7 separate regions of the Homo sapiens genome follow, and regions 2, 3, 4, 5, 6 and 7 are each linked to region 1. The links are contacts of gene promoters, found by promoter capture Hi-C in blood cells and fetal thymus (Javierre and others, 2016). All regions are on one chromosome and are shown on one strand. Each heading gives the region's core, a stretch centred on a gene start or on the middle of the fragment in contact. The rest is flanking DNA. Distances are from core to core; before and after follow the strand shown. Region 1 holds the start of SLC1A3-AS1 (SLC1A3 antisense RNA 1). Region 2 overlaps NADK2 (NAD kinase 2, mitochondrial). Region 3 overlaps RANBP3L (RAN binding protein 3 like). Region 4 overlaps CPLANE1 (ciliogenesis and planar polarity effector complex subunit 1). Region 5 has its middle 170 kb from the start of CPLANE1-AS1. Region 6 has its middle 100 kb from the start of RANBP3L. Region 7 overlaps NIPBL (NIPBL cohesin loading factor).

The links. The method cuts DNA at HindIII sites, captures the fragments that hold promoters and counts their contacts. A CHiCAGO score of 5 or more calls a contact.
Region 2: a contact is called between a fragment that was not itself captured here and the fragment with the promoter of SLC1A3-AS1 in region 1, in 2 of 17 cell types (neutrophils and naive B cells). The highest score is 5.6, in neutrophils.
Region 3: a contact is called between a fragment that was not itself captured here and the fragment with the promoter of SLC1A3-AS1 in region 1, in 1 of 17 cell types (monocytes). The highest score is 6.8, in monocytes.
Region 4: a contact is called between a fragment that was not itself captured here and the fragment with the promoter of SLC1A3-AS1 in region 1, in 1 of 17 cell types (naive CD4 T cells). The highest score is 5.7, in naive CD4 T cells.
Region 5: a fragment that was not itself captured here is called in contact with the fragment with the promoter of SLC1A3-AS1 in region 1 in 2 of 17 cell types (erythroblasts and monocytes); the score reaches 5.5 in erythroblasts.
Region 6: a contact is called between a fragment that was not itself captured here and the fragment with the promoter of SLC1A3-AS1 in region 1, in 4 of 17 cell types (M1 macrophages, monocytes, M0 macrophages and 1 more). The highest score is 9.2, in M1 macrophages.
Region 7: a contact is called between a fragment that was not itself captured here and the fragment with the promoter of SLC1A3-AS1 in region 1, in 1 of 17 cell types (naive B cells). The highest score is 5.6, in naive B cells.

Annotation. Positions count from the first base shown.
Region 1 is chr5:36,723,441-36,726,948 of GRCh38, forward strand. It overlaps SLC1A3-AS1 (SLC1A3 antisense RNA 1), which reads right to left and starts at 1,748. Exons shown (of 2, transcript XR_007058736.1): 1 at 1,674-1,748. RefSeq lists enhancers at 326-375, 386-435, 476-745. The HindIII fragment of the contact is 5,384 bases long and covers 1,132-3,508 here.
Region 2 is chr5:36,223,245-36,226,752 of GRCh38, forward strand. It overlaps NADK2 (NAD kinase 2, mitochondrial), which reads right to left. Exons shown (of 12, transcript NM_001085411.3): 3 at 3,231-3,319; 4 at 2,298-2,379. Among named protein-coding and RNA genes, the nearest start is that of NADK2-AS1, 3.9 kb to the left of the region's middle. The HindIII fragment of the contact is 2,276 bases long and covers 542-2,817 here.
Region 3 is chr5:36,259,185-36,262,692 of GRCh38, forward strand. RANBP3L (RAN binding protein 3 like) reads right to left here. Exons shown (of 14, transcript NM_145000.5): 7 at 2,755-2,858; 8 at 1,596-1,680. The region is part of intron 1 of LOC124900962 (a long non-coding RNA gene); the gene reads left to right. Among named protein-coding and RNA genes, the nearest start is that of NADK2, 19 kb to the left of the region's middle. The HindIII fragment of the contact is 2,047 bases long and covers 907-2,953 here.
Region 4 is chr5:37,114,826-37,118,333 of GRCh38, forward strand. CPLANE1 (ciliogenesis and planar polarity effector complex subunit 1) reads right to left here. Exons shown (of 53, transcript NM_001384732.1): 51 at 135-224. Among named protein-coding and RNA genes, the nearest start is that of CPLANE1-AS1, 130 kb to the right of the region's middle. The HindIII fragment of the contact is 5,052 bases long and covers 1-3,508 here.
Region 5 is chr5:37,073,457-37,076,964 of GRCh38, forward strand. It overlaps a transcript of CPLANE1 not described here. Among named protein-coding and RNA genes, the nearest start is that of CPLANE1-AS1, 170 kb to the right of the region's middle. The HindIII fragment of the contact is 1,244 bases long and covers 1,049-2,292 here.
Region 6 is chr5:36,402,308-36,405,815 of GRCh38, forward strand. No RefSeq gene overlaps it. Among named protein-coding and RNA genes, the nearest start is that of RANBP3L, 100 kb to the left of the region's middle. The HindIII fragment of the contact is 4,575 bases long and covers 1-3,508 here.
Region 7 is chr5:37,034,363-37,037,870 of GRCh38, forward strand. It overlaps NIPBL (NIPBL cohesin loading factor), which reads left to right. Exons shown (of 47, transcript NM_133433.4): 33 at 2,017-2,125. Among named protein-coding and RNA genes, the nearest start is that of NIPBL, 160 kb to the left of the region's middle. The HindIII fragment of the contact is 921 bases long and covers 1,140-2,060 here.

The DNA.
Region 1 (3,508 bases), core at 498-2,997:
GAGAAGATCATTTTTTAAAAAAAATAAGGGCCAGGCATGGCAGCCTATAATGGTAGGCAGCACTTTGGGAGGCCATGGCTGGAGGACAGCTTGAGGTCAGGAGTTTGAAATCAGCCTGGGCAACATAGCAAGACCCCCATCTTGACAAAAAATACAAAAGTTAGCCAGATGTGGTGGAACACACCTGTAGTCTCAGCTACTCAGGAGGCCGAGGCAGGAGGATCACTTGAGTCCAAGGGTTTGAGGCTGCAGTGAGCTATGATCATGCCACTGCACTCCAACCTGGGTGACAGAGACCTTGTCTCTAAAAAGTAAAGAAATGAAATAGAAAATAAAAACGAATGGTAGAAATAAAAGGAACTGAGTAGTAGGGGGCAGAGGCATGTCTAGGGGAGAGAACTAGAACTGCCAAGGGATTTGAGTGCCTGATGGATTCTGAAGACTGAAATATACATGACCCCAAAAAGCAATGTCATTTGTAAATATTTGTTAATGAGTTTAGTGAAGTGCTACATGGAGGAATGATCTAGCCAATGAGAACAATGTGCACCAGCCAGTTGGATTCTTGAAGCTGCAGAGACTTCATCTTCAGCCACAGCAGGTGGCTGAGGGCTAGAGTTACTTGGGACTTTCCCCAATGCTCTAGTTCCTTCTATCTCTTGGAAACAAGTCTGGCTCAATATGTTCAGCAGCCCCATTGATGTTGCCCAGAGGAAGTGTGGATCAGGGCTCGCTGACCCCAAGGTTAGCAGCAGAAGAGCAGGGCCTCTGCCTCCCCAGCCAGGAAGCCCACAGTCTTGGCCACATGAATGAAGGAGGTCTTGGCAGCATCTGACACACCTCGGGGTAATGATTTAGCCACCCCAAATTACCGTGTCTCCACAAAATAGTCACTTGGGGCCACACTACATTGTGGAGAGATAATGAAAGAGCTTCTATTTTTGAGCTATCTTTTCCTCATATGCGAATAATTTCACACACAAAAAAATGAGAAAACCACTTCTCTCTGTCACCTACAGAATCAGGAACAGGGATCAGATTATCTTTTAGATACCCGCCCCAAAAAGAAATAAAAATCAAGAAAACATGGGTAAATACCATGGTGGACATTTAAATGAAGCTGAGAAAGAAAGCTTTCTCTATTTAGAGAAGAATTCAAAATGGATGGCAGGAGATTTGTTGAAAATAAGGAAGAGGGAGGGAAAGGTTAGTAAATAATAGGTCAAATCTTCAGCCTAGAGGGCACTACTAAGTTTTCTTTTGTTCCCCCTTAGGTTTCCTGGTGTAGCAGTGCAGTTGCAACGTAGTTTTGTTTTTTGGGTTTCTTTAAACCTAGAGTGGTAAGAGGGACTTGGTGGCGATGGACTGCCATGGGTCGGTTCCTTAGAGGGCTCTTGAGTTTTTCCCACCTGTCTCCAACTCCAGGGCCACCACTCTAATAAAGCCACTGCCATCTCTGACCAGCTCCCCTGCTGTGGCTTTCACTCTTGCTCTCTTTACAGCCCATTCCACACAGCAGCAGCCAGCATGGCACTTCCCGTTCTGGGCCCCTCCCACTGACTGCACCCTGTGCTTGTCCTTCATAGTGTGTAAAGATCTGTATGTGGGGTGATTTGACTAACGGTTCTCTCCCCTTAAGTATAAGTAAACCTATGAGGGCAAGGACTGCTTACCTTAGCATCCTTGGTTCCTGGTAGGATGCCCATCCCATAACAGGCTGGAGCTCCTGGGTGTGTGGGAGGGAGTAGGAAGGAAGCAACAGCTGCCAATCAAAGGCCCATTTGGGCATGTGACCCTTAGCTAGCCAATCAGAATCCTTTCCAGGGTTGTAGCAGTTGAAGCTGTGAGCAGCTCAGTTGGTTGGGTTGTCTGTCTTGTCTTGGCTTGGATTCTCCCAGAAGGAGATCCTGAGTCAATGATTCGGGTGCAAGTAGATTTCTTCTGGGAGCCTTTCTTTAATAAAGCACTTGCACCTGAGTCATTGACTCAGGATCTATTTCAGGATCTCCTTCTTGAGGGAGAGGGCGAAACAGGATCCAGAAGAAGCAAAGCAATGGAGCAGGCATGGCATCAGGAAGAGGACAGGGAGGCTGCCGTAAGCCCAGCAGGCTCCCTTTCAGGCTGTTAAGGAGGGGGATGAGTACGAACATGAAGGTGGCCCAAGTAGCTCTAAGGTCCCTTCTCTCATCTCCTGTCCTTACCGGGGGCCGTAGGCTCTAGATAAAACGCTGCCCCACCACCCGCCAGGGCTTTTGTTTTGGCTCACCTTTCATCCGCCTTCTCAGACTCTGTCTGCCTTGGCTTCCCTCAGCTGAACCCAGGGAATTTGCATTTTGCTATTTTCCATCTGCACTGGGTAGCCTGGCTCCAGATGTTTGGGGCAGCAAATGCAGAAATTCCAGGCAAACGGATCTGATCATTCTCTGCTTGGCTCCACTCGCTGCATCCCAAGCACCAGATGCCTCACTGGTGTCTGCCTACCTTCCTGGGAGGCAGATCCACCGCTCATAAGATAGAGCCCAACGACAAGACCCTGTACTTATGGAGGCCTTTTATTTAACAACTCATTTCATTGAAGGAAAAATCTAGAATCTACTAAGACCTCCTGATATTTTTTAATTAACTAGAAATTGTGGATGTATCCCTCAATATTTTCATCTAAAGTGGTTGAAATGATAATGGAGGGGAAACTGTGTTTTAAAAGCGTGTTACTCCATTTCTTTCATTCACCTCCATCAATGATAATATGAGTTATCACTCTTAATATTAACCACGTGGCAGGCTTCATGCATTCTCACATACATTTCACCCTAAGGCCTGGAGAAGATAATTTCACCAAAGTCACACAGGTAGTACATGGAAAGGTGTAAATTTGAACCTGGATCTTACTGCAAACCCATACTCTTAACTGCTTCATTCAACTTTTGCCAGCAATCATTTGTCATAGACTAAATGCCAGAACCTAAGCCCAAGATTTTGCAGTATACAGAGGAGAAACTGGATGTCTTTTGAAATGCTTCAGAATGGTTTCTATAGTACATATCTGAGCAGCACTCCATGACCAAAGGATGCCAAATCCTTTGCCCCTTGTATTACACTTCATTCATTAGTTCATTCATTCATTCAACAAATGCTTATAAAGCACTCCTGTAAGGCATTATTCTAGGCACTGAGTGTTTGTTATTGAACAAAAAGGACAAAAAATACCTCACTATTCTCAGAGTTTACATTCAGGGATGCAAGAAGGAGCGTGAAACAGGAGATAGGCAATAAACATTAAAAAATTAAGAAAATTTTGTAATATGTTAAGAGGTGATCACTATGGAGAGAAAAAGCAAAGTAAGTGAAATCAGAAGTGCAATTTAAATTAGGGTGGTCAAGTCAGGACTCCCTACGAAGTTGACTTTTGAGCAGAGTGCAGGAGGTGAGGGAGTGAGGCATGTGGCTATCTTGAGGAAGAGTGGTCCAAGCAGAGAGAACAGCCAGTGCAAAGGCCCTGAGGCCCATC
Region 2 (3,508 bases), core at 430-2,929, 500 kb before region 1:
GAGAAGTTACATAATATTATCAAACTTCCATAAAATAATCACGCTGGCTGCAGTGGGGAGAAGAACTAAGAAACTATAAGGGTAAGAATGGAAGCAAGAAGATCAGTGTTGGAATAAAGATTCTGGAGTCCCAGGGGACTCCAATAATACCACAGTATTAATCAGCCTCCCTAGAGACAATATAGGAATTGAAGAAGAAAAAAGATGGCCCAGAGCACAATATGTAAAAACACCAGTATTTAGCCAGTAACCAAATAGTAAGATCCTTCAAAAGAAATACAGACAAAGAAGTAGTCACAGAGATAGGAAGAAAAAGGTATCATAAATGCCAACAAAGTACAGTTGAAATAAGGGAGCAGTTAGCACCAAAACTTCCCAGAAATCAGGTAAGACAAGGACTAAAATATCCAGTAGATTCGGTAAGTAGGATATCACTGATCTCTAAGGCAAAAGCAACGTCAATGAACTGGTTGGGGGCAAATCCATAAAAAAACTGCAAAGTTTTAGAAAATAACTGAGAACTGAAGGAGTGGCGATACCAAGCTTGGGGATAAGTGGAAGGAAAAGAGATAATAACCAAGAGAGTGACACAGGGTAAAGGATTTTTAAAATTTTCTTGAAAAACAGGAGTCTTGAACAAGTCTTTTTAGGCTAAAAGGAGTCAAGTGTGAAGGGAGAGAAAAAAAAGACAAGACAGGACAAGATTTTTTTAAGCAAGAGAAAAGGTGAAGTAGTTCTAATCCAGTGACTTTCAATTCCTCTGTGAAAACAAGGTGGGTTTATTGAAGAAAGAAGGATAAGGGAAGCAAAGTGAATGCAAAAGTTGAACTACTGAAGCAGCCACCACAGAGAATGGGGAAGAGAGATGAGTAGGGCTACATAGGAAGTTTGTGTGCAACTCTAAGTCCACCGCCAAGTGCTGAAGACTACAAACTGGAAGTGCCACCAAACCCAATGATCTTTTTTTCCCCAGATGACCATAGCAGTACTGATGCAGAAGTAGAAAGGATGATGGTCAGATTGATCTAGAATTGTGCAGAAAGATAATGATGAAGAAACATTTGCATTTTGGGAGGCCAAGGTGGGTGGATCACTTGAGATCAGGAGTTTGAGACCAGCCTGGCCAACATGGTGAGACCCCATCTCTACTAAAAGTACAAAAATTAGCCAGGTGTGGTGGTGCATGCCTATAGTCCCAGCCACTCAGGAGGCTGAGGCAGAAGAATTGCTTGAACCCAGGAGGCAGAGGTTGCAGTGTGCTGAGAGTGCGCCACTGCACTCCAGCCTGGGCAACAGAGCAAGACTCTGTCTCAAAAAAAAAAAAAAAGAAAGAAAGAAAGCAAGAAAGAAATATTTAAGAAAGTGAATGAAGTGAGGAAGAAATAAGTGGAGAAAATGGAGGTGATCAAAATACTGAAAGTCAAAGGGCAGATTTAGTGGGATAAAGTAATAAGGCTGCTGTTAAGGTAGAAGGCTACAGTCAGAGTGGAATTAATTAGGATTGTAGAGATAGGGAATTCCAGATCACCATAAAGTCCAGGTACAGTCATGGCTGTGGGTGGCTAGAACAGAATGAGGGTAAATATCACGAAGCTAAGGAAGGAAACAAAAAGTGCCAATAGTGTTTTTATTGGTCTTTTTATTAAGATAGGTCTTTTTATTAAGTCAGTAAAGTCACTGTCCCCCAAAAAAATCAGTGGTAGCATAATGAGGAATATAAATACAAGCCATAAGGAAGGGTAGAAAATGGATCATTATTAACTTGTCCCTCCTCAGCAATACCAAAGGTCCCCAACACTCACCTGGGTCAAGAACTCAGGTCTATTATGCCACAGATCCTACTCCCAAACTACCTGGGAAGCTAAAATGTGAGAACTGGTCCATCCTATAACATAATTTCCTACCACCAATGCCAGCTAGATGTATATATATTTTTCATGCCTGAGCTTAAAACTAGAGCTATATCCTTGAAAACAACTACATAAAAGACAATCCTACTCAGTTCTACATACCTAAATTTGATTACTAGAATGCTTCTGGAACATGGTTCTAATGTTCATGGTGGCCAGGAACAATGATGCTTCCACTTAGACACCATACACCTAGTAAAATGTCTGTAGCAACAGAGCCCAAGAATGTGAACATGGTCAAGAAAATAAAAAATAGCTTCCAAATTTTAAGACAGACCATAAAAAGATACTATGCAATCAAAGCAGAAATGCATGTATGTATAACCTAAAAAAAAACTTAAAAAGCACACCACACAAATCAAACAAAATGTATACGTTCTTTCTTACCGTTCTGGATCAGTGTTTACCCCTATAACTGGTTTAAGTCTGTCCAAGACTTTACTCGCTGCCAGCAGCATTGTGCCATCACCTAAGGAACATAAGACAAAATACAAGACATAACCAAATTTCTGTTATAAATCTAGTTTTTGGCCATTTTGAAAATCAGTAGTTTTAACAATCATACCCCACCCTGCTAACCGCTATAGCCTATCCCACTCCCTTTCTACCTATTATACCTTTGGATTCTCTCTCCCACTCTAATCCAGGATTTCATAAGTGGCAAGATTACATTTAGGCAGAATAATTCTTTGTTGTGGGGACACTGTAGAATGTTTTAGAGGTAGTCCCTTTACATACTAGTAGCACCCCACAGTTAGTAACCACTAATCTAATCCAAAAATTTCTATTAGCCAATCTTCTTTCCTTCTCCCATAACACCAGTCCAAATTCACAAATTATTTTAATAAAAACATATCCAATGTGTCCAACTTCAAATTTTTCTCTTCAACACCTGCTGTCAACTTAAAGCTTTAGAAACAGTAGCCATTAACTTAATGATAAAGTTCAGAAAAAAGTAAGTACAAGTATATTGGGACCAAAGAGGAATAGAATTTACCTCATCTCATTAAACTCTTTATCAACTTCATTTTTTTCTTAAAACTGCCATAATTATACCAAAATACAATAACTGATCCTTTGAATCATATTTGAAGTTAAATGCATACCTTAAATATGCACAAGGAACCTCATAGTAACGTCATTCATTTAAAATGTAGCCTTGTATAAAACAGAAGTTTTAAACTTGATCGTAACAATCCAAAAATGTGTTTAATGGTAAGACTCTGAAGGCTTCAATATAGCTAGACCCTAGGGTATCTGGAAATAATGTGTATTAAACATTTGTATATGCCAACATCTTTACTTCTGTCAAATTATTACCTCCTGCAGCTATGACAGCATCTGCCCATCGAACAGTCTCTTCATCATATTCTCTCCTCTTTACTAGACGAACCTCAATTCCCTCATTCCTAGGATAAAAAAGGAAAGGTTATATGAAATTTCCACTAATAATATATATAACAGGGGTATGTTTTCTGAGAGGCAGATGATTACAATAGAGATGTAAAATAAATTTGTGTCTTATAAACAAATTTACATGGAGCTTTATAACATTATCTTTGTTTTCATTTAATTACAACAGCCAATTAACTATGATA
Region 3 (3,508 bases), core at 680-3,179, 460 kb before region 1:
GTCACAGCTCTAGGATTGGTGAGTTGACCTTCATTTTGGGAATGACAGAAGGGTTCCTAAATAAACTAAGCCTTTAAAATGACTAACATATGAAAGCCCTAAAAATTTTGTAATGAGTTTGGGCGCAGTGTCTCATGCCTATAATCCCAGCACTTAGGGAGCCTGAGGCGGGTGGATCGCTTGAGCTCAGGAATTTGAGGCCAGCCTGGCAACATGGTGAAACCCCGTCTCTACCAAAAATACAAAAAGTTAGCCAGGTGTGGTGGTACGTGCCTGTGGTCCCACCTACTCGGGAGGCTGAAGTGGGAGGATCCCTTGAGCCAGGGAGACAGAGGTTGCAGTGAGCCGAGATCGTGCCACTGCACTCCAGCCTAGGTGAAAGAGCAAGACCTCATCTTAAAAAAAAAAAAAAAAAATGGAATGAACTGGCTTAACGAGTTGGTTCTTTTATTAATCTAAATCCGTACATGGGTTTTTAAATCTCTGCAGCTTCTTTGGGATTCTTCATGTAACTGGTATCCCTGAGACAAGCTAGGCACGTTCGAGCTATCTCAGCCACTTTCCTGACTTGAGTGAAAGCTGGAAAAGGTATGAAGATGTGATGGACCAGATAAAACCATAGGCATGGTTTTCCACAGCTTTCACTTTTCTGTAAAATTTTCCACTGTAGATCAGAGTTCTGTGGGGATCAGAGAAGCAGTTACCTCATTGCAAGAGGATGCTGAACATTAAATAAGGATGATGGTAATAACGTGAGGGGTTTTCACTAGGCAAGTATATTCTCCTAGGCAAGTAAAGCACTATGAATTTTCTCTGAAAGCTAGCAAAAGAAAGTTATAATAATGCTTTTTGATGTAAGAGCTTGAAGTTAGGGTTGTGGTTAACTGATAAGAACAAATTGGCTCAAGCTTATAATCCCAGCACTTTGGGAAGCTGAGGTGGGCAGATGACGAGGTCAGGAGATCGAGACCATCCTGGCTAAGACAGTGAAACCCCATCTCTACTAAAAATACAAAAAAAAAAAAAATTAGCCAGGTGTGGTGGCACGCGCCTGTAGTCCCAGCTACTCAGGAGGCTGAGGCAGGAGAATCACTTGAACCCAGGAGGCGGAGGTTGCAGTGAGCAGAGATCGGACCACTGCACTCCAGCCTGGGTGACAGAGCGAGACTCTGTCTCAAAAAAAAAAAAAAAAAAAACCAAACTGGCAAATAATTTTAAATGCATCTTGTTACAAAATGATGACATCGACAAACTATTAAACTATCATTACCAACTGAGCTTATCTAACTATTGCAGATGATTCTGGGATTTCCTTGGGTACTTTTGGTTTAACACAAGTCAAAGAACTATTTAATATTTCACATCAGTAATAATGTTATAATTATACAGTTCCCTTCCTCTGTGGGTTTCTATTATTTTAACAACTAGGACATGCTTCCCAGGAGAATCTTTCCAGTTAAAGAAAGAAAATGTGCGTTTGAACTCAGGAGTTAAAAAGTATAATTCAATTTAATATTACTTTTAATTAATTTACCTTTAGAAATTTAAAGTGACAGCTCTGTATATAGTAATAGAAACATATACCAAAATCTTACCAAAACTCTTTCTACCATGTTTTCTCCAAAAACAAAATTGGAACTGCAGCTTTTAAAAGAACATTTATCTTCATTTGGTTGACATCTAAGAAAATGAAATAAGCATTTACTATTTTAAATACATAGATAAAGCCATTTTAAACCTTGAAATAATCAGATAATTTAATAGATTTATGTAAATCAAATTTACTGCTCACTTTTGTTAGTGTGAATTTAATGAAAAATGAAGGAAAAATTCAGATAGTGGCATCCAGAGGTGATTGTCAAAATAGTTTCCAGCTCTTACAGCACTGGCAGAGACCAGTCCTGACTGCCTCATGCCCATCACTGCACTGGCTGTGTGGTCAGCCAGGAGGGCTTCCCAACCCCTTTTGCTTTTCCAACACACCCTGTCTAGTATCTAATTTCCCCTCTTCTCTTCCTCAAGTGGCTGATGTTTTAGCAACCAGAGATCTCCAGGGCAAAAGCGAAACCCTGTCTGTTATAATTGAGTGTGCATTGGCTTAAATTTTTTGCCTCCCAGAAACTTTTTTTTAATGTTAAAAGTGTTTTTCATGATGAGAAACTCGAAGACCGGAAGCCCGCTCTTTGTAGACAGATGTGCTCAGGGTTCGGCATTGCATCCCCAATGCACATAGAAGGCACCTGCTACCGCACCTGGACAGAGCCCAGTCATGTGAGTCAGTTTATATCCACAGCTAGTTTTAACCTCTCAGATCAAACATTTATCCATCACTAGTAATACTAATAAATATTGCAGATTTATACTGCTTTCCTTGTTGCTTATCTAACCTATGCCAATAAATAATGTATAATGCCAAAATAAAAGAAAAAAATGCTAGAGAGAGAGGAAGAGAGCCTAATCTACTAATCAGATAATTTATGTCCAACTAAATAAAAGTTTAGCCATACATTTTCAAAAAGTTCTCACCCAAGTTAATGAAACAATGAAGACAATCCAGTATTAATATGATAATATTTAAGAATCGAAATATTTTTAAAAACATTTTAAACTTGTGTTTCCTATAAAATCTCCTTTCAAATGGGAATCTTGGCAATTTATCCGTACAAGGTCAGAAAATTATTTTCCATGAATGGTTATAATAATGAAAGAATGCAAGAATGAAAGGACAACGCTTCTATTTTCTCATTAACTTACCCTACTGATGTTGCACCTAAAAAGTCCTGGTTAGTAGACAGCTGGACTGAAATTCTAGCCCTTGATAAATTTTCACTTAACAAATAGGAATTTCCCTCAGAAATCTGAAAGTAAAGAAATCCATCAAAAAGTTTATAAAGACTACCTTACTATAGGACCATCAGACAAGGAAACAATAGTTATAGTTAAATATATTGAAAGCTTACTATGTTTAAGTACTGCCTTAAGCATTTTATGTACGATCTCATTTACTCCTTACAACTCTAACACTTTGTAATTCTATTGTCCACATTTTACAGGTGAGTAAACTGACACAAAAAACTTAAATAATTTGCCCAGGTCACATACAGTGGCGATCTGTCTAATACCGGAATATCATAATATTCAGAAATCCCACCATGTTTTGTTTATTTTTGCCATTTTAGTCAAATTGGGTTAATTCTCATTTCTGGATTAGTAAAGCTCTTTTCAGGACTATTTAATCCTGGGAAACACCCTAAGAATGTCACCATCCTAGTCACCCAATGTGAGAGAAAACCCCACTCATCTATTTATCTTGAAATTTTCAACTAGTAACTTATCCAGTTACTTTGCCTTATGTACATATGTGTATGCACAATACCTGAATTAATATATAAATGTAAGAGTGAGGAAATTTAGAATTGGAAGGAACCCTATACATTATCTGATCTAGTATTTACAATTCCTTCCTCGACCAGGAATTTGCAAAGATGTTTCAGGGCGTTTGTGTCTT
Region 4 (3,508 bases), core at 1-2,500, 390 kb after region 1:
GGAGTGGAGGTTACAGTGAGCCGACATTGCACCACTGCACTCCAGACTGGGCAACAGAGTGAGACTCTGTCTCAAAAAAAAAAAAAAGAAAATTCAGTATTAAGTCTAAAAACTTTATCTTCTTTATCCCTTACCTTTTTGGAAGGTAACTGGAGACTGCGTAGCCTTTCTTACTGCTGCTTTGGCTCCACCAGCTTTTTTCTGTATGGTGAAAGTGGCAGTTCCTATACAGAGAGACAAACATTATTAGCCTTCCATAGACATCCATGATTTTTATATATATTGTGAGTTATTTGAGGACAGACACCTTGGTGATCAGCTTTGAATCTGCTCACCAAGCCCTGTTCACAGTAGGGGCCCAGTAAATGGTGGCTGGTTTGAACCAAGGTGGCAAAACTTAAGTGCAGACAAAGAAAGGGAATACTTTGCTTTGACACCTGGTATCCTTCAAGCACAGCCATACTCTTTTTTCAAATGGCAAATGTGTTTTGACATCTCTGGCAACTGGAAAAGCTAGGGACATAATAAGCCTCTTAGCAGTAAACACCTAGACAAAATGCCAAGTTAAATTTTATCAACCGAATGATTAGTTTCTTAAACTCAAAGATTAATAACAACCATTTACTTCCATGTTATGCAATATCTCTTATTAATATAATCCTCAACAACTCTATGAGGTAGGTTTCAAATAACTTATCTGAGGGCAAAAATCAGCAGCAGAGCTGGGATATAAACCTAAGTTTAGAGGATTTAAAACTTAGACTTTTATTTCTTTTTTTTTTTTTTTTTTGAGATGGAGTCTCACTCTGTCACCAGGCTGCAGTACAGTGGCGTGATCTCCACTCACTGCAACCTCCACCTCCCAGGGTCAAATGATTCCCCTGCCTCAGCTTCCCGAGCAGCTGGGACTACAGGCACACACCACCATGCCTGGCTACTTTTTTTTATTTTTAGTAGAGACGGGGTTTCACCATGTTGGCCAGGATGGTCTTGATCATCTGACATGATCCGCCCACCTCAGCCTCCCAAAGTGCTGGGATTACAGGCGTGAGCCACCATGCCCGGCCGACTTTTACTTTTTTATGCCTAAGATGCCTCTCAGTTACTAATCATATAATCTTTGTATTGTAGTTGACAGAACTAAACATAAAACAAGCAACAATAACACAAACTACTCCTGGCCAGGCATGGTGGCTTACGCCTGTAATTCTTGCACTTTGGGAGGCCAACATGGGAAGATTGCTTGAGCCCAGGAGTTTGAGAACAGCCTGAGCAACATGGCAAGACTCCGTCTCTACGAAAAAATTTAAAAATTACCCAGGTGTGGTGGTGCACACCTGTAGTCCCAGCTATTCAAGAGGCTGAGATGTCTCACACTACCAGGCACGGTGGCTCACACCTGTAATCCCATCACTCTGGGAGGCCAAAGCTGGCGGATCACTTGAGGCCAAGAGTTTGTGACCAGCCTGGCCAACATGGTGAAACCCTGTCTCTACTAAAAAATACAAAAATTAGTTGGGCACGGTGGTGCAAGCCTGTAGTCCCCGTTACTCCGAAGGCTGAGGCAGGAGAATTGCTTGAACCTAAAGGACAGAGGTTGAAGTGAGGTGAGATCACGCCACTGCACTCCAGTCTGGGTGACAGAGCAAGACTCTGCCTCAAAAAAAAAAAAAAAAAAAAAAAAAAAAAAGGCTGAAGTGGGAAGATGATCTGAGCCAGGGAGGTCAAGGTTGCAGTGAGCCATGATCACGCCACTGCACTCCCTTCTGGGCGACAGAATGAGTTCCTGTGTCCAAAAAAAAAAAATTTCCTAACAGTATGGAAGCAGGGCTGAAGAAATTAGCCAAAAACTACATACTGCTTTACAAGATAGAAAGCAACATAGAGTCAAACTCCCAAGCATATTCAGAAAAACTCTTCATTTACGAATGAACTACAGTGAATTTGAAAATCTTGATGGAGCCTCACCTCCCCACATGTGCAATGACTGAACTTGACCTATGTGAGTTCAGGTTATCTGTATCACTGACTAGGAAAAGGTCTGGAATCAGTCTTGCCTGGATTTCCCTCCATTCTCCCAAACACTGGGGGACCTGAAACTTCTGAATGTAGCCAGGTGAAATGGTTGGGTCTGGGTGTGACAGAGGCCACAAGAACAAGGGGAGCCACAGCCTGTTCTACTGAGGCAGAGAAGTTAGAATATCCACAAGCACTCAAGCTGCCTCTTTTATCTTTGCCTTAAAAGACAGGACAATAGCCAGGCATATGGTATTATTCTCTGACATGGTATAAATACTATAATACCCGCCTATTAATATCCTTGAACAATAATTTGTTTATAAATAGCTATGCTTAGGCAAAAAGCTCAATAACCATTTTTTCCATTTATCCATTTGTTCAATGTTCGAGTATTTCATCTGTTCAACATGAGGGGTAATAGGAAGATGAGCAAGGGAATACTGCTGCAAAGCATTTAATCTAGTATGGGGCATGAAGTTTACAGGTAACAACAACAGGACACCTGTTGTAGTGCTTCAAGAGGGACATAAACATGTGGTTAAGGGTTCAAAGGACAGAAAAATAACTGCTTTAGCCACCATTATCTCTAATTTTCATAGCAACCATGCAGATTAAATATTAGCCTCAATTTAGAAATGAGAATGTAGAATATTAAATTGATTATATCAGCGTGGATGAACTAAAGAATTACAATTAGGAATGTCTTCAGACACACAGAAGTGAGACATTCAAGGTATAAAGGAGCACAAATCATGGCATGTGGTTGGAAAACAAGCTGCTGAGCAGCACAGGTTCTATGGGGAAAGGAGGTCAAGGAAGCAGGAAAACACACAGATGATGCCTTGAAGGCCAAGCAGAGGGTCTAGACGTTTCTGTGTGGGTATAAGTGTTGCTGAGGGCTTCTGAGCCCAGGAGTAGCAGGAGCACCTCCTCAAGCATAATCCAGCAAGGGCAGGTGAGATTAACGGAAAGACGGGCTAAGGCCATAGCAACCGTCAAAGCACAAGGTAAAAATAAAGACTTGAAATTGAACACATATAACAGGAGGACATATTTCCATATAATTCAAGACTTTTTCATCAGATGTTAAGAAACCATGGCTCAGGTTTTTAAAACCTTGACAATTTTAGATATGTATTTAATTCTGGCAAATATATCAGGTACAAAATAAGTTTTTTTATATAAGCATGTTTCACTATTTTGAAATTTCAGTTTTAAAAGAGCAGTATTTTCTTACTGTAATTTGTCAATCAAAAAAGCCAAGAGCTGGTCAGGCATGATAGCTCACACCTGTAATCCCGGCACTTTGGGAGGCTGAGGTGGGTAGATGCTTGAGCTCAGGAGTTCAAGACCAGCCTGGGCAACACAGCAAGACCCCCCATCTCTACAAAAAATGAACAAATAAACAAAAATTAGCTGGGCATGGTGGCACACGCCTATAATCACAGCTACTCGGGAGGCTGAGGTGGGAGATGGCTCTTGAGCCTAG
Region 5 (3,508 bases), core at 421-2,920, 350 kb after region 1:
AATTGTAATAAGGAGATAACAAGTATGAACTTCCTTAGTAAAATCAGATGAGTGAAGCCAGCCTTCCTGGGTTGCATCCACATAGGAGAAAACATGACTTACTCCTCGTTCTTCTGGAGAATGGCCCATGAGGGAACAACCATCATTTTAAGTGAAGAATCTAAATATATTACATTATCCAGAAAGGAGAAAAGTAGTCTAGGTGGATTCCTGCATAACTGTAAAAAGTCAACTGAATCTTTAACATTTTGCCATTTATAAAATTCAAAGTAATTTCAAGACAATTAATGAAGGTTTTAACTCAATAAAGTTTGTTACTTAATAGTTTGATTTTGCTAATTAAAGAAAGAATACCTTATCCCATCTCTCTCCATCTAGTCCTTTGTAGAGGCAACCACTTTAAATTCTTAGCTCTTTCTTTGGGTCATTTATATTTCTAAAGAATATACTGTTACAATTTGTTAACCCTAGACCTTACATATTGAATTATATTATGATCTGTTGACTTTTTTATGATAGGTAAGGACTTGGCTCTCATGTCCTTCCCCTCTCCTCCCAATATGGATATATTTAATGAGAATTTATATAATATAAAACAACTATGTAAATATTGTTTAATCAGAGCCAACACTTAGTGTACTATAAATACATGTTCCTGTATATGATGTTTTCTTGTGTACTTTAATTCCTTTGGAATGTTCTTTTATATCATTCGCTCTTTGGAGTCTTCCCCCACCCTCTTCCTCTATCCCAGCCCCTCCTCCCCATTAGTTTTGTATCAATGTGGATTCGTTTTCCAGGGCTGCTGCAAAGTTGTTCCAGACTTTTCCTTCCCCATTTCTGGCTGGATCCAGAGTCCATCTCTGGCATCCATACTTTTGTCCTTTTAGCTTAAAATTCTCGGTTTGCTTGAGCATATCCTGCCATAACTTCCTAAGAATAGGTGCATGGGGACAAAGTTTTCGAATTATTGGATGTCTGAAAACGTCTTTAGTCTCATGATTGATAGCCGGGTCTAGAATTCTAAGTTGAAAAGTTTCCCTTTGAAAGCTTCTCATAGTCTCCTAGCCTGTGCTGTTGCTGTTAAGTGGACTGATACAATTATGATTTTTGTTCTTTTGTATACGATCTGTGTTTCCCCTCTCTAGAAGACTTTAGGATATTTTTTGTATTTCTGGTATTCTAAAATTTCATAGCGATGTCCCTTAATGTGAATCTTTTTTAAAAAACTCATTTTGCAGCTGGGCACCATGGCTCACACCTGTTATCCTAGCCCTTTGTGAGGCTGAGGTGGGAGGATTGCTTGAAGCCAAGAGTTCAAAACCAGCCTGGACAACAAAGCAAGATCCCATCTCTATTGTTTTAATAAAATTAATAAAATTCATTTTGCAGGGTGTGTTGTAGGCTTATTTAATCTGTGTCCTTAGCTCTGGAGAATTTTCTTTACTAACTAACTTTCTCCCCTTTAGTTTATTTGTCCTCTTAAATCTGTAGATACTGTTCCTTTTAGACTAATTTTCTCAGCTATGTTTTTTGCTCTTCCCTGCCCCCTTTCCTTTTTGGCTCTGTCTTCTTTGAGAGGAGTTTTCCTACATTATCTTATCTTTTAACTCTAATATTAAATAATTCATTACAACTATATATTTTAAATTTTGAAGGTTTTTTCTTGTTCTCTGATTGCTCCCTTCATATAGCAACTTTTATTTTATGAATAAATATACCACCTTCTCATATCATCTATTTGTTAGATTAGAAAGTAGAATTTTCAGCTGGGTGTGGTGGCTCACACCCGTAATCCCAGCACTTTGGGAGGCCAAGGTGGGTGGATCATGAGGTTAGGAGATCGAGACCATCCTGGCCAACATGGTGAAACCCCGTCTCTACTAAAATACAAAAAATTGGCCGGGTGCGGTGGTGCACGCCTGTAGTCCCAGCTACTCAGGAGGCTGAGGCAGGGGAATTGCTTGAACCTGGGATGCAGAGGTTTCAGTGAGCTGAGATTGCACCACTGCACTCCAGCCTGGTGACAGAGCAAGACTCCATCTCAAAAAAGAAAGAAAGAAAGAAAGAAAGTAGAATTCTCACTTGCCATCTGGGGGCCTGAGCTCAAGTCACAGCCAACATAGCATGTGTTCAGGATTAAGTAGGCCGAGAAATCACATGCCATATTCCTTAGAGATCTGATTCAAATTATAAACTGCAGCCAGATAGATGGAGGTAACATTAACAGCTTTATTGTCAGTAGAGCCAGAATACAGAACACATTGTAACCTGGACCTGCAATCACAATCAAGCTTGCTGCCTTCTTCCCGGAATCTAGACCTTGCAATGCATCTGCTGGGTCGAGTATTTGGCAAGGCAGATACTTACTTATCTATTTAGGCAGCCTACCAAAAGAAAAATTGCTTACCCCTCACTTGTCAAGCCTCAAGTGTTGGGAAAGAATAGTGTCACATGCAATTGGTTTTTAATACAGGTATTGCACTCACTTAAGAAATGGAAACAGGCTGGGCACGGTGGCTCACACCTGCAATCCCAGCACTTTGGGAGGCTGAGATGGGAGGATTGCTTGAGCCAAGGAGTTAGAGACCAGCTGAGGCAACATAGTGAAACCCCTATCAATCACTACAAAAAAAACAAAAAACAAAAATTAGCCAGGCATGGTGGTGTTTACCTGTGGTCCCAGCTACTCAGGAGGCCAAGGCAGGAGGATCACTTGAACAAGAGGTAGAGGCTGCAGTGGGCAATGATCACACCACTGCACTCTAGCCTAGGTGACAGAGCAAGACCCTGTCTCAAAAAAAAAAAAAAGAAAAGAAAAGAGAAAATTTGGGCTGGGGGGAGCAACTGATGTCAAACTTTTTTTTTCTTTTGTTTTTGTTTTTTTGAGACAAGGTCTCACTCTGTTACCCAGGTGCAATCTCTGCTCACCGCAACCTTCGCCTCCCAGATTCAAGTGATTCTCATGCCTTAGCCTCCCGAATAGCTGGGATTACAGGCACATGCCACTACGCCTGGCTAATTTTTGTATTTTTGGTAGAGACAGGGTTTCACCATGTTGGCCAGGCTGGTCTCAAACTCCTGACCTCAAGTGATCCACTCACCTCAATCTCCCAAAGTGCTGGAATTACAGGCATGAGCCACCACACCTGGCGATGTTGAACTCTTGCCACTCACCAATCAGAAACATAAATTCTCTTTTTTCCAAAGAAATAATAACCTTATAGAAATGTGAGAATAGAGTTCCCTTTGTCATTGAGCATACCAATTAGTTTTAAAAACCATTTCTTTTATTTCTTCTTGAGTTATTTTCTCTATTATTTTGCCTATTTAATTTGGATTTTCCCTTTCATAATGATTTTCTCCATGCATCTAGGATGCCTAGTGGTCTATTTAGTTTTAGGGAAAGATGATACTAAAACATTTACTGAAGAAGCTGAGTGTGTAGGTGAAGCTCCTCTGGTAGGCTCTACTCTGGGCAGTAGCCAGCAAACTTTTTTCTGTAAAG
Region 6 (3,508 bases), core at 556-3,055, 320 kb before region 1:
CAAAGTAGTCTCTGCCAAACTCAGTGTCTCCTATGGGGCTTTCACTGAAACCCAGTGGGTTGAGTCCTCGGTGTCTCTGAAGGATTTCTGAAATAAAATAACCCTTCATCCCCACTCCCAACCTCCTTTATTAAAAGAAAATATTTTTTATATAAATTGAATAAACGCCGAAATCCCATATGGCTCAGGTGATACTTAGATGCACTCAGAAACATCCGGGAACCAAAAGTAATAAAAAGAAATTCCATTTTTTACTTTTGTTTTTTAAAGAAATTAAGGGAGCTTCCATTTCTGTCACTAAGTACTACTTAAAATCGTCTCTCCCCTTGTTCTTTCTCTCTCATACCTCTTAGCTGCCCAAAGCCTCTTCTTCACAGTCTGACTCAGTTCTCTCTGCAGAAAGCCTCTGGACTCACTGGGGCTGAAAGGTCGCATGTAGGGGAAGGAACAGCAAGGCAAAAGCTCTTGTAGAAACCATAAGTGATGCCTTGGGAATTCTGCTCTGAGAGCTGTTGTGAGCCCTGCCTGGAATGTTTTTAGCTTCTCTGGGGGTCTTGCTGTTAGTGAGGTTATTTCTGTTGCTGACTTCTCTTCCTTCTCAGCCTCTATGGTCTTGCACCTGATTAAAATAAACAGAAGCCACCAGACAGATCACTAAGAAGGTAGAAGTTCACGAACAAAACAGCTGGTGTATTTGAGCAAATATTTTTTTTTGTTTGACAAAGTTCCGCTCTTGTTGCCCAGGTTGGGGTGCAATGGCGCGATCTCAGCTCACTGCAATATCTGCCTCCCTGGTTCAAGCGATTCTCCTGCCTCAGCCTCCCGAGTAGCTTGGATTACAGGCACCCGCCACCACGCCCAGCTAACATGCCCAGTTAATTTTTGTTATTTTTAGTAGAGTCAGAGTCTCGCCGTGTTGGCCAGGCTGGTCTTGAACTTCTGACCTCGGGTGATCCACCCACCTTGGCCTCCCAAAGTGCTGGGGATTACAGGCGTGAGCCACTGTGCCCGGCCACATTTTATTCTTTTAATTTCAACTGTTTTATTAAAACTCAGACCACCCTTATCTGGTGAACTGCTTGATCCTACCCAGCAGGTGAAAGGATCAGAGAAAATAACAACCAATCAATAGATGTCAGCAGGCAGTCTCATTCCCAAACAAGATAAAAGACCATGGACTCTGATCTCAAACCAAAATATTTACATATCTCGTTGAGGACATTATCGGCAGTTTGGAGGGGACATTATGGTGTAGACAACAAGAAAAATCACCGAAGGAAGTTGGGAATAGCCTGGGCTAGAAAAGGATGAGCTAACGTGTTGGGGTTAGGAATCTCCAGCTCTGATTTCTTAAGCAGCCATTGGAATAAGAAACTGGGCAAATTCCCAACAGGGTGGGGCAATCCCCCTGATCCCAGCCCATTGGGAAAAGGGCCTAATTCTGCTTCTCCCTTCCCATTCCCCAGCAGCAACATAAAAAAGCACAAAATGTCTCAGTGCTCTGGAATTTCTTCACTCAGATGACCCTGGGTGGATTTTGCATCAAAAACACAGATTTATGAAAGAGCAAATTATTTGTGAAAAATTCTTCACTTTAGAGGAAGAACTGTAGAGCATCACCACAGGCTTATTCATGACTACATTTGAAAAATATGATTCTAGGTCAGAGATTCTGGTATACCCATAGATTTTCAGGAACATATCTTCTGCATTAGAGAAACATTCTGCAAAAAATGTCCATCAGGCCCAAGCAGTTTCAGCAGCCGAGTAGCCCATCTGGGAAACAACTCCGGAACCCCTTCAGACAAACCCGCCAAGGCTGGGTGACTTGGCAGTCCCTGAGCCCCTGCCAGCTCATTTGTGGTCTGTATTTTTCACAGATGCTCCCTGGTGTGTAGCAATTTCCGGATATTTTTCAAATGGTTTTTATCCTGCCAGCTGGGTGCAGTGGAGGGACTACAGCTTGGACAACTCAGCCGGATGGACCCATCAAATTCAGCTTGCCAGCCCGGTTAGGATTAGACTGCATTGTTTGCGCCTTGCCCTGAGGTTGGCACCTATCCCCCTATCCTGTTGATTTCCATCCCTACTCCTTCCACTTCCCTAGTGCTCTTGGCCCCTGTTATGAGACGACTAGCCTGTCATCCTACCCCTATGAAAACCTCCTTCCCAGGTGGACACCATTAATGTGCAGGCAATGTAGTGGAGGGAGAACAATATTCTAAGAGTAGGAAAATGTGAGCTAGACCCAGTTCTGCTAGTAATTAGCTCCATGGCCTTGGTCAAGTTGTGTAACTTCTCTGGGTCTCATTTTCCTTTCTGATAAAATGAAGGCCCCCATCACTACTTTCAAGTAAGGCCTTTACCAAGTCATCCAAGTTGTTCCAGTAAGTTGCACATCTGACAACGGCCCATCCCTTACCACCTCCTCTAAATATGTTTTCTGAGATATTTCAGAAAATAAGATTTTAGAAGGAAAGCTGTATTAGTTGCACAAACCTACTTCAGTGACAGGCTAGGATTGAACATTAAAATTTGAAAGAAGACATGAATTCCCTTATTAATGCTGCTTAGGGGAAGAAGAGGCTGAAGGAAGGCAGCTTCTATAAAAATCAATGGTGAACTGGAATTTATCACCTCTGTGTGAGTCTGACCTCTCAGGACTTTTTCTCTAGAATCCCAGGATCCTAAGTAATGAATAATGAATCTAAACATGCCTTCCATGACCTTGAGGATATGCAAACATGAAATTTTGAAAAAAGAATAAAAGAAAGAAGAAAAATTCTGGAAAGTTTAACTTCATTTCTATTATCATACTCAAAATGAAAGTAATGTTTTCTCCAATTATAAAAATAATATAGAAATCTGGAGACTACCAAAAAATATAAAGCATAAAACAAAATCACTCATAATAGAGATAACCACTGGCAATGTTATGGCTGTTTCCTTTCACCCTTTTTGATCTGGACACTATCGAAACAGTTTCCTTCATGATTTTGAAGCATCAGTCTCATTTTAAATTCTCCTGGCTCATAGAAATCGCTGAATCCCACAGAATTCCAAGTACCAATACTACTTTTGGTTTCCTTTTCCATATTTCACTCTGACCCGAAATGAAAAATAATGCTGGCCAGACACGGTGGCTCACGCCTGTAACCCCAGCACTTTGGGAGGCCAAGGCGGGCAGATCACCTGAGGTCAGGAGTTCGAGATCAGCCTGGGCAATATGGCGAAACCCCATCTCTACTGAAAATACAAAAAATTAGCTGGGCGTGGTGACACATGCCTGTAATCCCAGCTACTCAGAAGGCTGAGGCAGGAGAATTGCTTGAACCCAGGAAGCAGAGGTTGCAATGAGCCAAGATTGGGTCATTGCACTCCAGCCTGGGCAACAAGAGCAAAATGTTGCCTCGGAGAAAAAAAAAAAAAAAGAAAAGAAAAGAAAAGAAAAATAATGCTAACAGGTGACTATTTCAATATGTGGTACAACTGGGACTCAATATGGATG
Region 7 (3,508 bases), core at 350-2,849, 310 kb after region 1:
TCCAATGACCCAGCAATTCGACTTCAAATATATATACACACAAAAGAATCTTGCATATTTGCATCAGGAGGCATATACAAGAGTGCTTATTGTACTAAAATTGGGATTAACCTATCTACAAAAGAGTGGATAAATGAATTAAGGTATAGGCACACAGTGGGGTGTTGTACAGCAGAGAAAATCAGTAAAATACAGCTGTATGCAGTAACCTAGATCATAGTGGCATAATGATGAGTGAAAAAAGCAAATCTCAGAAGACTACATCAAGTATACTACCTTTTTAGAAAGTGGAAAATCAAAGAAAAATATAAATAGCATACAGCTTATACTTTTTTTAAAAACAAGGAGATGGTAAATTTCTGATAGTGGTTATCTCAAGTGTGAAACAGGAAAATGGGATAAGGGAAGGAGCACATTGGGAGCTACAAGATATTAAAATTATTCGTGTTCTTGATTTGGATTCAAAGTATGCCATTATTTATTAGTAAATTAGAAGGGCATATACGAGTGGCAACAGTGTGTCATGAGTCAAAATTTATGATTAATTCTTTTGTGTGTACCTGAAGCCTTGGAAATGAAAAAGGAAAAACCAAGGATGAGAGAGGATAGTTTTCTACTCCTGCCGTTAAATAAAAGACCAAGCTAGGCCGGGCATGGTAGCTCATGCCTATAATCCCAGCACTATGGGAGGCTAAGGCAGGCGGATCACTTGAGCCCAAGAGTTTGAGACCAGCTTGGGCAACATAGAGAACCCCATCTCTACAAACTGTACAAAAATAAGCTGGGCACGATGGCTCACGCCTGTGGTCCCAGCTGTGTGGGAGGCTGAGCCTGGGAGGGCAAGGCTGCAGTGAGCTTTGATTGTGCCACTGCACTCCAGCCTGAGTGACAATGAGACCCTGTCTCAGAAAAGACCAAACTAGAATGTGATATTAATAGCTGCTTTAAGGAAATTAGAGAATGGGGCAGGAAGAATTTGCGGTTCATAGTTGAAACCTAGTACATTGAAGCTGTCTGCTTTATTTATTTCTTCAAATTGGAGGAAAAGGGGCAGTGTGTGTGTTATGTTACTCTGGTTGCTGTCAGTTGTTTTAATCATTTATGCATCTTGTGGGGAAAGTTTAAGCTTGTGCTGCCCAAGCTTGTGCCCAACTGTAAGCCACATGCATTTTTTTAAATGTTAACTTAATTTCAATTTTTATTTTATTTAATTTTAATTTCTCAGTCACAGTAGGTACATTGCAAGTGCTTAATAACTGCATGTGACTCTTGGAAACCATATTGGACAGCAAAGATATAGAATATTTCCATTATTGCAGAGAAAGTTATATTTAACAGCAGTGGAACTCTTCACAGAAATCAAATACACATTTAGATTCCTTCAATATCCCCAGAATTAGATTAGCTAGCTTTTCTTAGGAAAACAGATATACCTTATGACTTTTCTGTTGACCTTTGATTATGAAAGATTAGATTGGTTTTACTTTTTAGCTATATTTAGAATGAGCTCTATCCTCATCTCATTATTCATAACACTTTTCTAGCATTGTTTGTGATTTTGCAAAGGATAATGCAGAAAAGAAATCTACCGTTATGTTTTATAATTGCCTTTTAAGGTGCAATTCAGATGCAGTTATTAATTATTTAAAATAATTCAACTAGTATTATGTGATACTGTGTTTTTGATTGGAATAGGGAGAAAGGGAAGGTCATCTTTTCTACATCTTTCACGTATTACCTTAGGTCTTACACAGCAATTTAAGTACTTTGTAGTAAAATTGTTTGAAAGTATTGGTAAATTACTGGTTTATAAGATATTTTTAAACATATATATTTTTGTTTTATTAATTTGCACTTTGAGTATTAAATTGTTAATGACAAATTGAAAAGTATGTTACTTATGGACACTTTTAATGTGTTTATATTATTATTGCCTAATGAATAATTATACCGGGATTTTTTTTTCTTTTTTGTATATATATATGTATATATATATATATATATATGTATATATAGTTGTTGAAGTCCGAAGAGGATTCCTCATATAAACCTGTGAAGAAAGCTTGTACTCAACTTGTTGATAACCTAGTTGAGCACATTCTTAAATATGAGGAATCTCTAGCTGGTAAGACATTTTATATATATATTGATCTTTAGTTGATTTTATAAGATATTTTTAAATATTTTGAGTAAATTTCTCATTTTTGCCTCTGGCTCTGCTTGTCTAATGATTACTTCACTTTTAAATGAAATACATTTTTGTTATATAGGTATCTGTTTGATGTTGCATCCTAGATTATATTAAGATTGACTAAGATTATCTAGAGCATTGTAATAAAAGCATGGGCCTCACCTCTTTCACATATCTTTTAATAGCATATTATAATTTTAGATGTCATATTGAATAGGAGTAAAAATCCAGGGGCTAATATGTATCTAGCTAATGATACTCATCACAAAACTGATATCTCCTAAGTCATATAAAATTATGTCTCAAAATGAAATTGTTTTAGCTATTATAAAAATGTTTTTTAAAGATTTATATTACATTCCTAATATTTATTATTTATAATTGTTACATAAAGTTTGCTTAATCTTGAGCTAGAAATTTATTAAAATGTTTAAAATCACAAATTATTTAAGTACTTAATATTTTATATTATCTCACATTATTTACCAATCACAAATCTGAAGTTTTTTAATCAATTATAAATAAATGATTACTTAAGAAATATAAAAATTGGGCCAGGCGTGGTGGCTCACACCTGTAATCCCAGCACTTTGGGAGGCCAAGGCGGGCAGATCATGAGGTCAGGAGATTGAGACCATCCTGGCTAACACAATGAAACCCCGTCTCTACTGAAAATACAAAAAAATTAACCAGGCATGGTTTTGGGCGCCTGTAGTCCCAGCTACTTGGGAGGCTGAGGCAGGAGAATGGCATGAGCCCGGGAGGCAGAGCTTGCAGTGAGCCAAGATCACGCCACTGCACTCCAGCCTGGGTGACAGAGGGAGACTCCGTCTCAAAAAATATATATATATATATGTATATATATATATATATGTATATATAGATACATAGATAGATATAGATACCCATTGCTTGAAGCGCACAAAGACTAGCATTACTTCCCATCTAATGCACATTAATGAGGAACAACGTCAGCCTCAGTTGTTCTCCAAAATTGGGAGCCAATAGCCTCTAACAGCCGTCCATTTATGGCACCTACGGAAGTTGTTGATATGCTTTATATTTTTTATGCAGTCTTTTTTTTTTTTTTCCATGTGTACCTCTTTTTTTTCTTTTTATCTCCTTGTTCCGTTTTTTTATTTTTCCCCATCCTGGAATTTAGGGGTGATACTGATGTCCCTTAATGTTAAAAAGTTGCTAATTTCCTCTAAAAATTTGTTTCCTAAGAACCAGTGTATTTCCTGATTAGCAACATTTTCTTCCCACCTGAACAGCATTTTGTTTAGAGCTGTCTTATAGCATTGTTCCAATTTCTGT